Regions from separate parts of the Homo sapiens genome. Here regions 1, 2 and 4 are each linked to region 3. The links are contacts of gene promoters, found by promoter capture Hi-C in blood cells and fetal thymus (Javierre and others, 2016). All regions are on one chromosome and are shown on one strand. Each heading gives the region's core, a stretch centred on a gene start or on the middle of the fragment in contact. The rest is flanking DNA. Distances are from core to core; before and after follow the strand shown. Region 1 overlaps TOX2 (TOX high mobility group box family member 2). Region 2 has its middle 9.0 kb from the start of GTSF1L. Region 3 holds the start of TOX2 (TOX high mobility group box family member 2). Region 4 has its middle 87 kb from the start of JPH2.

Evidence for each region. Contacts are between HindIII fragments. The CHiCAGO score rates a contact against its expected background, and 5 or more counts as called.
Region 1: a fragment that was not itself captured here is called in contact with the fragment with the promoter of TOX2 in region 3 in 8 of 17 cell types (activated CD4 T cells, M0 macrophages, endothelial precursors and 5 more); the score reaches 8.0 in activated CD4 T cells.
Region 2: a contact is called between a fragment that was not itself captured here and the fragment with the promoter of TOX2 in region 3, in 4 of 17 cell types (neutrophils, total CD8 T cells, endothelial precursors and 1 more). The highest score is 6.3, in neutrophils.
Region 4: a fragment that was not itself captured here is called in contact with the fragment with the promoter of TOX2 in region 3 in 1 of 17 cell types (naive CD8 T cells); the score reaches 5.2 in naive CD8 T cells.

What each region holds. Positions count from the first base shown.
Region 1 is chr20:44,056,400-44,059,099 of GRCh38, forward strand. The region is part of intron 5 of TOX2 (TOX high mobility group box family member 2); the gene reads left to right. Among named protein-coding and RNA genes, the nearest start is that of JPH2, 130 kb to the right of the region's middle. The HindIII fragment of the contact is 1,736 bases long and covers 383-2,118 here.
Region 2 is chr20:43,716,615-43,719,314 of GRCh38, forward strand. No RefSeq gene overlaps it. Among named protein-coding and RNA genes, the nearest start is that of GTSF1L, 9.0 kb to the right of the region's middle. The HindIII fragment of the contact is 161 bases long and covers 1,349-1,509 here.
Region 3 is chr20:43,913,495-43,916,194 of GRCh38, forward strand. It overlaps TOX2 (TOX high mobility group box family member 2), which reads left to right and starts at 1,358. Exons shown (of 9, transcript NM_001098797.2): 1 at 1,358-1,496. The coding sequence starts at 1,398. RefSeq lists silencers at 1,009-1,128, 1,229-1,328, 1,349-1,458, 1,509-1,598, 2,669-2,700 and enhancers at 1,095-1,812, 1,813-2,530. The HindIII fragment of the contact is 9,025 bases long and covers 1-2,700 here.
Region 4 is chr20:44,099,299-44,101,998 of GRCh38, forward strand. No RefSeq gene overlaps it. Among named protein-coding and RNA genes, the nearest start is that of JPH2, 87 kb to the right of the region's middle. The HindIII fragment of the contact is 3,805 bases long and covers 1-2,700 here.

The sequences.
Region 1 (2,700 bases), core at 1-2,500, 140 kb after region 3:
AAAAGACTTCAGGTTGTTTTTGTTTGGTGGGGGGATTTCCTTGCCGTTTTATACAGTCTGGGGAGACAGTGGTCTCAAGTCCTATGTCCCCGGGCACTCCCTCCACCGATGCTTTCTCTGACCTCATTCAGCGCAGCCCAGAGGCAAGCAAAGGTGGTTGAGAGTCCCAGCCCCTGTGTCGGTTTCATTTCTGCTTACCTGTCTGACGTTTTATTTCTAACCCAAGAACTTGGCATATATTTATTTCCATCCGATAATGGGCATTTCTCTCCTTTTACTTAATGCGTTCTTTTACTTAATGCGTTATAAATGGCTTGTTTCTCCCCATTTTCCTAGCAAATTGTTGAGTATAAAAAGTTAGGAATTTAATTTGTAACTGCCAAGCTTACTATTTATTTTATCATTTCTGATCATTTTTAATTCCTGAGTCTTCTAGGTTTAAAAAAAGTGTCTATAATTATACACATATTTATACATATGTATCTTTTACAAATGATAATTTTGTCTCCTTTGTTATTTGTTTTTTAAGAGACAGGGTGTCACTCTGTCACCCAGGCTAGAGGTCAGTGGCATGATCATAGCTCACTGCAGCCTTGAACTCCTGGGCTCAAGCAATTTTCCCAGCTCAGCTTCCCAAGTAGCTGGACTACAGGCGTGCCATGCATCACCATGCCCCACAAAATTTTTTCTTTTTTTTGGTATTTTGTAGAGACAGGGTCTTGCTGTGTTGCTCAGGCTGACAAACTCTTAGCCTCAAATGATCATCCCACCTTGGCCTCCCAAAGTGCTGGGATTAGAGGCATGAGCCACTATATCCAGCCATATCTCCTTATTTTGTCTCCTCACTTCTCAGATTTCTAATTCTGTTTTCTTTTCCCAGTTATGTTGACTAGGACTTCTAAAAAAGAGATGTTCAGCAATGGCGGGGATAGTGGTCTTCTTACTTTGCATTACCTCTCATGTTTCACTATTAAGCATAAGGCTGGATGTTAGCTTGTGTCAGTTTTTGAAATCACATTTAGAAATGTGACTTATATTCCTATTTTACTATTAATACACTAATAACCAAGAGAGGTAGTGAGAAAATAATAGGAAATAAAAAAACCTTGCCTATCCCCCAAAAGTTTCAAGCCTAGGTGATGGATAGGAAAGTTCTTTCAAATCATCAAAGAGCTAATAATTCCAAGACTTAGAAAAATAAGAAAACCTTCACAAGTCTTTATATACAATGTAACCTTGACACTAAAACATAATGAAGCTAACTGCATCATTTAATTTTGAATGTGTAATAAACAATACCAAAATTTAATGGCTTAAAACAATAATCATTTATTCAACTTATGATTCTGAGGGTCCATGAACTGTGCTGGGCTCAGCAGGATGGTTCTGCTGCTGCTCTTGGCTGGGCTCACCCATTTGCATCAGTGGTCAACTACAGTAAATTAGGCATCTCTGCTTCTGGGAGTTGGATGGCTGTCAGCTGGAGCAGTGGAGCCAAACTGGGCCATGTGTCTTTCATCATCCAGCAGACTAGCTCATGCTTATTCACATAGCAAGTCAGAGTTCCAAGAGCAGTTTTAGAGCAGAAAAATGGCAGGAAGGAGGCAGGACTAACTTGCAGCTCCCACTCGGACAGACAGAGCACGGAGACTCACATTGTGAACTTTTGCTCCAAGAACTACCACAGGAACATACTAGGAAAGCCAAAAGAATCCACAGACACTTTGAAGGATGTGGATTGCTGCTGCAGGCTCTCTGGGACAGCCAAGGAATTGTGAGTTGGCGTGCTTTCTCAGCTGGGAGGCCTGTAGCCTGGGGCAAGTTCTCAGCCCTGTTCACTAGCTGCCTGGAAATAAACTCGGTGCTGTTGGGGGTGCATGGTGGGAGTGAGACCAGCCTGTGGCTGCCAGCTTTCCCTCACTTCCCTGACAACCTGTGTGATGCAGCAGTCAGCCATAATCCCTCTGGGAACCACAACCCCCACAGCATCTGCAGCAAGCCCCACCTAACCCTGCCCCTACCTGATGGTCTTTCTCTACCTGCCCTGTTAGCCTAAGACAAAGGACATAATCTCTCTTGGGAACTCCATGGCCCCGCCCACCACCTGACACTAGGGCAAGCTTGTATCCTCCCTATACTACTGCAGCTGATGTGCTCTAGAAAGTGCTACCTCCTGGCTAGAGGCCAACCAACACAAAACCAGTGCACTTAAAAATACAACCAAGGACCCTCATGGAGTCCACTTCACTCCCCTGCTACTTCCACTGGACCAGGTGTTGATATCCATGGAGGAGAGACCTGAAGACAGATCACATCACAGGACTCTTTGCAGACACTCCCCAGTACTAGCCCAGAGCCCGGTAGCTCCGCTGGGTGGCTAGATCCAGAAGAGAAATAACAATCACTGCAGCAGGGCTCTCAGGAAACCACATCCCTAGGGGAAGGGGGAGAACCCCAAGGGACAGGAGAATCTGAATAGCAGCCTTGAGTCCCAGATCTTCCCTCTGACATAGTTTACCCAAATGGGAAGGAACCAGAAAAATAATTCTGGTAATATGACAAAACGAGGTTATTTAACACCCCCAAAAGATAACACTAGCTCAACAGCAATGGATCCAAACCAAGACAAAATCTCTGAATTGCCAGAAAAAGAATTCAGAAGGTTGATTGTTAAGCTAATCAAGGAGGCACCAGAGAAAG
Region 2 (2,700 bases), core at 179-2,678, 200 kb before region 3:
GAGCCCTTGACCCTGTTTCCACAGAGGGGCACAATGAGATGAGAGCAATTTCTCTCGTCTCTGCACCCAGTGGGCATCTCTGCAAAGCTCTGAGTATTAATAGCCATGGGGTTGGGCGGGGGTGGGCAGAGACTGGGGGCGGAGGAGGACGATGGGTTGGTGCAGTAGGGCCTTGCCTGGCCCTTGCCTTGGGTGGCTCACCTGCCCATTAACAAGCCCCTGCCTCAAGCTGAGCGTGGCCCCCAGGTCAGACCAGTAAGCAAGGAAGAGGGGTGAAGGCAGCTGGGCAGAACCCTCTAGCCCCATTGGCCAAGGCTGAGCAGGAGGCCAGGATGGGCCAGAGCCTCTGCCCTTGTGGCCCTAAATCCCTAGGGTTGTGGCTACAGAGCACAGTGCTTGGCAGGTGGTTGGGAAGAGTCACTGGGGATTGAAGAGGGGAAGATGCCAAGTCTGAGAATGTCTAAATGAGGAATTGATGTTTTCAGCAGCAGGCTTCATGGGACAGGCACATGAACATCCCTGTGGGCAGAGGTTGAGCAGACTTGGGGCAGGTCCTCACCTGGGGCAAGAGATGCGGCCAACTCTAGAGGGATGGGGACTGAGTTAATTAGGGTGCCAGAGTTCAGATGTGTCTGGCCTCAGACACACCCCTTTCTCCCTGCTGAGCTCCCGCCTACAGTCCCCCTACTCCTGTCCATTCACATGCAGGCATGCCGTGCTTGGTCCTGGCAGTGTCCCAGTTCTTGATCTAAAGCCGAGGAGGGGCGGGGGCTCTGTGCTTCCCACCCTGCACCCCGCACCCCGCAGCCCATGTGGCTGGGCTGCATGCACCTGCAGGTTCCATGGATGAACCACACCTAACTCACGCCCTGAGCTTTTGTGATTTGTCAGCATGGAGCCTATCCCCTCCCCAACTTCTTCCCCAAGGTCTGTCACTGGCCGCTCCCTACAGTCCTTGGTCACCCAAGGTGGATGACCTGTGCCCCACGGTGAGGATGGAGGCTGCATTACCTTGTCTCCTATAGCTCACACCAAGACTCGGTGGAACAACTTTGTCAAACTCAAATGCAGTGCGCTGCAGGCTAATGATGAAAATTCCTGGGCCCTCTGAGTCAGGTACCTGGGGTGGAGCCTGCAAAAAGGGATTTTTAACAAACCACCAGTGGGTTATTCACATGCAGGGCGTTGACTGGCTACACTCTGAGCTGACGCCTGTGAGGCTCCAGGGGCTTGTACCCCATGCCCTCTCTTGCCTGAGGTCTTGCTCATTCCCAGGGACTGCCCTCAGGCCCTTTCCTGTCCTGGAGGGAGGAGGCTGTAAAGAACAGAGTGGCTGCAGGTAACAGCAAGCTTAACATACCATCCTCACTGAGCTCTGTGTGCTGTGGGCTTGTTCTTTGGTTCATGCATTAAATAAATACTAGGCCGGGTATGGTGGCTCACGCCTGTAATCCCAACACTTTGGGAGGCCGAGGAGGCCAAATTGCTTGAGTCTAGGAGTTTGAGATAAGCTTGGGCAGCATCATGAAACCCTCTGTCTACTAAAAAAAAAATAGAAAAAATTAGCTGGGCATGGTGGCATGTGCCTTTAGTCCCAGCTCCTCGAGAGGCTGAGGTGGGAGAATCACCTGAGCCCAGGAGGTCGAGGCTGCAGTGAGCTGAGATCATTCCACTGCACTCCAGCCTGGGCAACCAGAGGGAGACACTGTCTCAAAAACAAAAACAAAACCACATTTATTGAGGGACCCTCCAACCCTACCCCCACATGTCTGGCATAGTTGTAGTGCTGAAGATATAGCAGTAAAGGATAGAAACCAGGCCAGGTGTGGTGGCTCATGCCTGTAATTTAGTACTTTAGGAGGCTGAGGTGGGAGGATCACTTGAGCCCAGGAGTTTGAGACCAGCCTGGGCAACATGGTGAAACCCCATCTCTACAAAAAATTTTAAAAACTTAGCATGATAGCATGATGGCTCATGCCTGTAGTCCCAGCTACTCAGGAAGCTGAGGTGGGAGGATCTCTTGAGCTGTGGTTGTGCCTCTCTACTCCGGCCTGAGTGACAAAGCAAGACCCTATCTCAAAAGACAAAAACCAAAAAACTACCTTATTCTCATGGAGCTTAAATTCTTTTTTTTTTTTTTTTTTTTGAGATGGAGTCTTGCTCTGTTGCCCAGGCTGGAGTGCAGTGGTGCGATCTTGGCTCATTGCATGCTTCGCTTCCTGGGTTCACACCATTCTCCTGCCTCAGCCTCCCGAGTAGCTGGGACTACAGGCACCCACCACCATGCCCGGCTAATTTTTTTTTTGCATTTTTAGTAGAGACAAGGTTTCACCGTGTTAGCCAGGATGGTCTCGATCTCCTGACCTTGTGATCCGCGTGCCTCAGCCTTCGAAAGTGCTGGAATTACAGGCGTGAGCCACTGCGCCCGGCCATGGAGCTTAAATTCTAAAAAGCAGACAGATATAAACCAACCAATTGATATAAAATGTGCCAGAGGGAACTTTGAAGTAAAGCAGGGGGTACCGTGAGGCCAGTCATCTGCTCAGAGAAAGTGGGGAGGAGTCAGATTTGACAGCTCCTGGCCATCATGGGGACAGGGAGAGCCCACATGGGAAGGCAGATTGGTTGCCACTCAGGAGGTGCTGGGGGCCCAGCTGCTGTTTGATCAGGAGTTTGGGGAACTTGGTCATGAGGATTGAT
Region 3 (2,700 bases), core at 108-2,607:
TTTTTCTGATGAGGTGTGGCATTGTATTTCTAGAAACAATGACTGCTGAAATTTATTTGGAAGTTCTTTCCTTTCTGAGCTATAATTTCCCTCTGTTGTTCCCAAGCCTTCAGTGAATGCCTGTTTCCCACACCTATCTTTTGTTAATGCATCTTTCTTATGGTCCTAGTTCTAGGCCAGGACCAGCAAAGCCCAAGCAGCAGTTGAGAACTAAGTTCTAAGCTAGCTCCTGAGTGGGCAGGAAGCTCAAGTCCTTTTCTCCCAATGGCATCCTATATCCTGGTGCCACACAAGAATGCCATTCTGGCTGACTTCGCCTCCTGGCCTCTCCCAGTCAGACATACCTGGAGCAGTCAGTGAGCAGTGAGATTGCTAGGGGAGATTGCTAGTGTAGACAATTCTTGCATGAAAAGGGGGATGGGGGTGCAACAGTCTAGCAACCAGCAAGTGATATCAAGAACTAGAGGGTTTTTTTTTTTTTTTTGGTTGGGGAGGAACCCCATTTCACAGTCACCTTTCTGACCCACCATCAGAGCCATCCCATTCCAATCTCATTTTCTTCCTTTCCTCACTCCAAGAGACCGTGACTGTGGGCAGATCCTAGACCCCTCTTCAGAGCTTCGGGCTCTAGGCATTCCTGCGGCCCTCCCCTCCCTATCATTAAAAGGGGTGGGGTCCTGCTGCCTTCTCCAAGTGGTTTCAGCTCTGGATCCTTTGGGGGCAACGGAGCCCACCCGCCTGGAGCTCCATTACTGATGCTGCAAGTTTTTGACTCAGTTTCCCCATATGTGAGTGAGAGTTTAAGCGCGGCAATCTCCAGGGGGGGCTGTCAAGCTGACTCAGATCAGTGAGACGAGGAGGGGGCGGGCATGCTAAGAGCATCCTCCGGCGCTGGCCTGCGTCCCCCCAGGTAAGGCAGCACCCATCTCCAAAGTGGTCCTGTCACCACCTTCCTCTTCCCCCCGCACCCACGCCGCGGGGCGGGGACTAGCGCCGCCTCAAATATTTAGGGCAAGGGAGTGTCCCACTTCTGGGGAGGGGTGCCGTTCGGGCTTCTCTCCTCACCGTGGGTGGCGAAAGGCGGGACGGAAAAGCGCCGTCTGGACAGGCGCGCCCCCCTCAGGGATGCAGGGCCGGGCGGGGGACCCGGCGGCGGCCCAGCCCGGAGGAAGGACCTCCACGCCCCGGCCCGGGCCCCCGGGCCCCCGGCCCTAGGCAGCGCCCGAGGCCGGAACAATAGCGCGCGCGGGCGGGGCGGGGGCGGGGGCGGGGCGCTCCTCTGGGCACCGCCCCCGGCCCGCCCCCCGCGCTCGCAGTCCCGCTCGCACACTGGCTCCCACCCGCCGCCCGCCCAGGCACTGCCCGCGGGAGCCGCCGCCGCCGCCGCCGCGCCCGCCATGGACGTCCGCCTGTACCCCTCGGCGCCCGCGGTGGGCGCGCGGCCCGGGGCCGAGCCGGCCGGCCTGGCGCACCTGGACTATTACCACGGCGGCAAGGTAGGCGGGGGCGGGCGGGGGTCCCCGGCGGGCGGGGCCGGAGTCACCTGGCAGCTCGGGACTCAGGCGCTCCCGGGGTCACACGGGGCCGCGCACATCAGCCCCGCCGACGGGCACGGGCGGCTCACATCGATCCCCTCGCGGCCACGCTCACGCCCTGAGTTGTTGGGATCGCGGGCAGAAGTCATCCCGACAGCCACCCGTGCGACGACACAGTGGCCCCTCACTCGCGTCCCCCTGACAGCCTCGCAGTCATTCACAAGCCGTCACAGTGACCCACAGCCACACGCAGGCGGCCAGGCACTGCTTACACGGTCCCGCCGTCCCACGCAAGTCACCCTGACAGTCACTTATACACAACGACACGCAACCACTCACCCGCAAACAGCCTCACCGCCACAGACGAGTCACCCACAGACGCTCCGATGCCCCACACACCGTGACATGCCCCCACCCGCTGTCACACCCAGGCACAACGGGGGACAGTCACACAAAGAAGTCGCCCGACAGTCACACTCTCGCAGCCACAACGCCTCACCCAGGCGCACGCTGTCACACACAGCCACCCCCCTGGACGGTGAGCCTCAGACACAGATCGTCCTGACGGCCACACAGTCACACGCGGTCACACCCAGGGACGGCCACACCTCGGTCATCCACACTCGCGCGTCGAGGTTTAACTTCTCAGCGCCGCAGCACACTAATTGGGCAGTTTACTAATTGGCCGTCACTGCCTGGCGGGGCCTCGGATTCCGAGTAGGCTGCGGCCAATCGAGGCCTGTGTCCTCCCGGGAGCGGTGAGCCGGCGTCCCTCCAGGCTGGGGCTGTAGTGCCGGACACCCTCCCTCCTCCATGTTTCCAGGATCTATCCCCCCACCCCAGCCAGGTCCCAGCTGCGCTGCGCCGGGCGCATTCCCAGTGATGGAGGCTTGCGTGCCTGGAACCCCGAACCCGAGGCGTCAGGTCCCACTGCCGGGTCTGGCCCAGCCTGGATGGGTTGGGTGCCTCTAAGCAGTCCGCGTCCCCTTCGGTCGCCGGAGAGGGAACTTTCAAACTTAGTTAGGAAGCCAGACTGTCCGCGCGTCCGCCAGTCGGTGCGTCGGTCCCGGGCCGGCTGGAGCCAAGCGCGGGTTTTCGTCACTCGGAGCCCGGATTGAACAGCGCGCGTGGGTTTCCCGCAGCCCTGGCGCAGACGCGTGGGCTC
Region 4 (2,700 bases), core at 4-2,503, 190 kb after region 3:
CATGGTGGCTCATGCCTTTAACCCCAGTACTTTGGGAGGCCAAGGTGGGCGGATCACTTGAGGCCAGGAGTTCGAGACCAGCCTGGCCAACATGGTGAAACCCTGTCTTTACTAAAAATACAAAAATTATCTGGGCATGATGACTCATGCCTGTGATCCCAGCTACTCAGGAGGCTGGGGCAGGAGAAGTGCTTGAACCCGGGAGCTGGAGGTTGCAGTGAGCCAAGATCCCACCACTGCACTCCAGCCTGGGTGACAGAGTGATACTCTGTTTCAAAAATACATACATACATACATACATACATACATACATACATACATACATATGTAAAAACTGTTCTTAGCTCAAAGACCAAAAAAAAAAACAAATCAGACATCGGGCCAGATTTTGCCCACCAGCCATGTTTTGCCAGCCTCTGATATTCACAAAGGGCTGTCTTCTGTCTGCTGAGTGTGGCGTTATTTGGCTCAATACCATGGACCTGAAGCAGGCAGGACTCAAATCTCTGCAGCTGGGAGAGTTTTTAAATGCAGCTACAAAGTTTTCCTGAATATTAGATATATTTGCAAGTTGCCAGCTTGTTAGATAAGCACTCACAGGGCGTTCTGCTCGCTGCTAGTTTGCCCTGATCAACACTTTTATGTCGTGACCTATAAGAAAGCTCAGAGAACCTAGTGGCCAGGAATAGCAAAGGAAAATAGTTACGAGAGGAGGTAATTACCCTCTCTACCACCAAGAGATAGAGGATGGAGGGTGGAGGTTAAAAGGGTGGGCCCTGGAGTCACGGTAAATTACTCGGGGTAAATCATGTAAATTTTCTGGCCACCAGTTTCCTCATCTGCATAATAGGGATGATGATAGTGTCTGTCTAATTATATCGTTGATAGGATTACATGTTATCATGCATTTAAAAGACTTAGTGTCTGCTTGTTAGTTTTTAAGTGGTTGGTTTTCACTACCTCCACTATTAACTACCCTGGCATAAAAAAGCAAAAGGAAAAAGAAAGGCAATTTGTACAATTAACTCCTAAAGAAGGTGAAAGAGTTAGTGGAAGAGATGAGAAAACTTTAATAACAAATAAATAAGAACTTTCAAGAAAATGCAATTTGGGTTTGATGACTTTCTGGAAGTAAAATGTTTGAAAAATTAAAAGAAATATCCAATAGTTGGACTGGAATAAATGGGAATCATGGTATAGTAAGTGATAGGACATCTCCTCATAGGGATGAAAGAACAGGTAGACCAGGGGAAGGGAGGACATTTAGGAGGCAGGTGCAAAACACCCCACGAGAATCCAGGCTGCAGGGAAATACAGAATTAGAAGAGTTGGACAATTAATCCTATTTGAGAGGATAAGTTCAATGAGCTGAAGACTGATTTTTTTTTTTTTTTTTTTGAGACAGGGTCTTGCTCTGTTACCCAGGCTGGAGTGCAGTGGTGCAATCTCGGTTCACTGCAACCTCTGCCTCCAGGTTCAAGCACTTCTGCCTCAGATTTCCAAGTAGCTGGGTTTACAGGTGCACCACCTGTAATATGCCACCGCACCTGGCTAATTTTCACATTTTTAGTAGAGATAGGGTTTCACAATGTTGGTCAGGCTGGTCTCGAACTCCTGACCTCAAGTGATCTGCCCACCTCCCAAAGTGCTGGGATTAGAGGCACGAGCCACTGCACCTGGCCGGAAGTCTCAAATTTTGACACCGAAAGAGCACGTTGTTTCCAGGACTGGATTAATTCCTAAAGAACTCACCTTAGACACATGCTCTGTTTAAATTCTGAAGACTGAATCTTAGGAGAAAATCTGACAAGACTTCAGAGGGAAAGAAAAGAAGAGTTTACTCACAAAACTAAAAGAATAAGTAATGGGGAAAGGACTCCCTATTGAATAAATGGTGCTGGAATAACTGACTAATCGTATGCAAAAGATTGAAACTGGACCCCTTTCTTACACTGTATACAAAAATCAACTCAAGATGGATTAAAGACTTAAATGTAAAACCTAAAACTATAAAAACCCAGGAAGATAACCTGGGAAATATCATTCTGTACATAGCTTCTCGCAAAGATTTCATGTTGAAGACTCCAAAAACAATTGCAACAAAAACAGAAATTGACAAATGGGACCTAATCAAACTAAAGAGCTCTGTACAGCAAAAAGATATTGTCAACAGAGTAAATGGAAAACCTACAGAATGGGAGAAAATATCTGCAAACTATACCTCCAACAAAAGTCTAATATCCAGAAACTATACGGAACTTAAACAAATTAACAAGCAAAAAACAACCCCGTTAAAAAGTGGGCAAAAGATATGAACATTTTTCAAAAGAAGACATACACATGGCCAGCAAGCATATGAAAAAATGCTCACCATTACTAATCACTAGAGAAATGTAAATCAAAACCACAATGAGATACCATTTCACACCAATCAGAATGGTTATTATTAAAAAGTCAAAAAATAACAGATGCTGGAGAGGTTGCAGAGAAAAGAGAATACTTATACACTGCTGGTGGGAATGTAAATTAGTTCAGCCATTGTGGAAAGCAGTTTGGCGACTTGTCAAAGAACTTAAAACAGAAGTACTATTCAACCCAGCAATCCTATTATTGGATACATACCCAAAGGCATATATATAAATCATTCTACCATAAAGACACATGCACATATATGTTCATTGCAGCACTATCCACAATAGC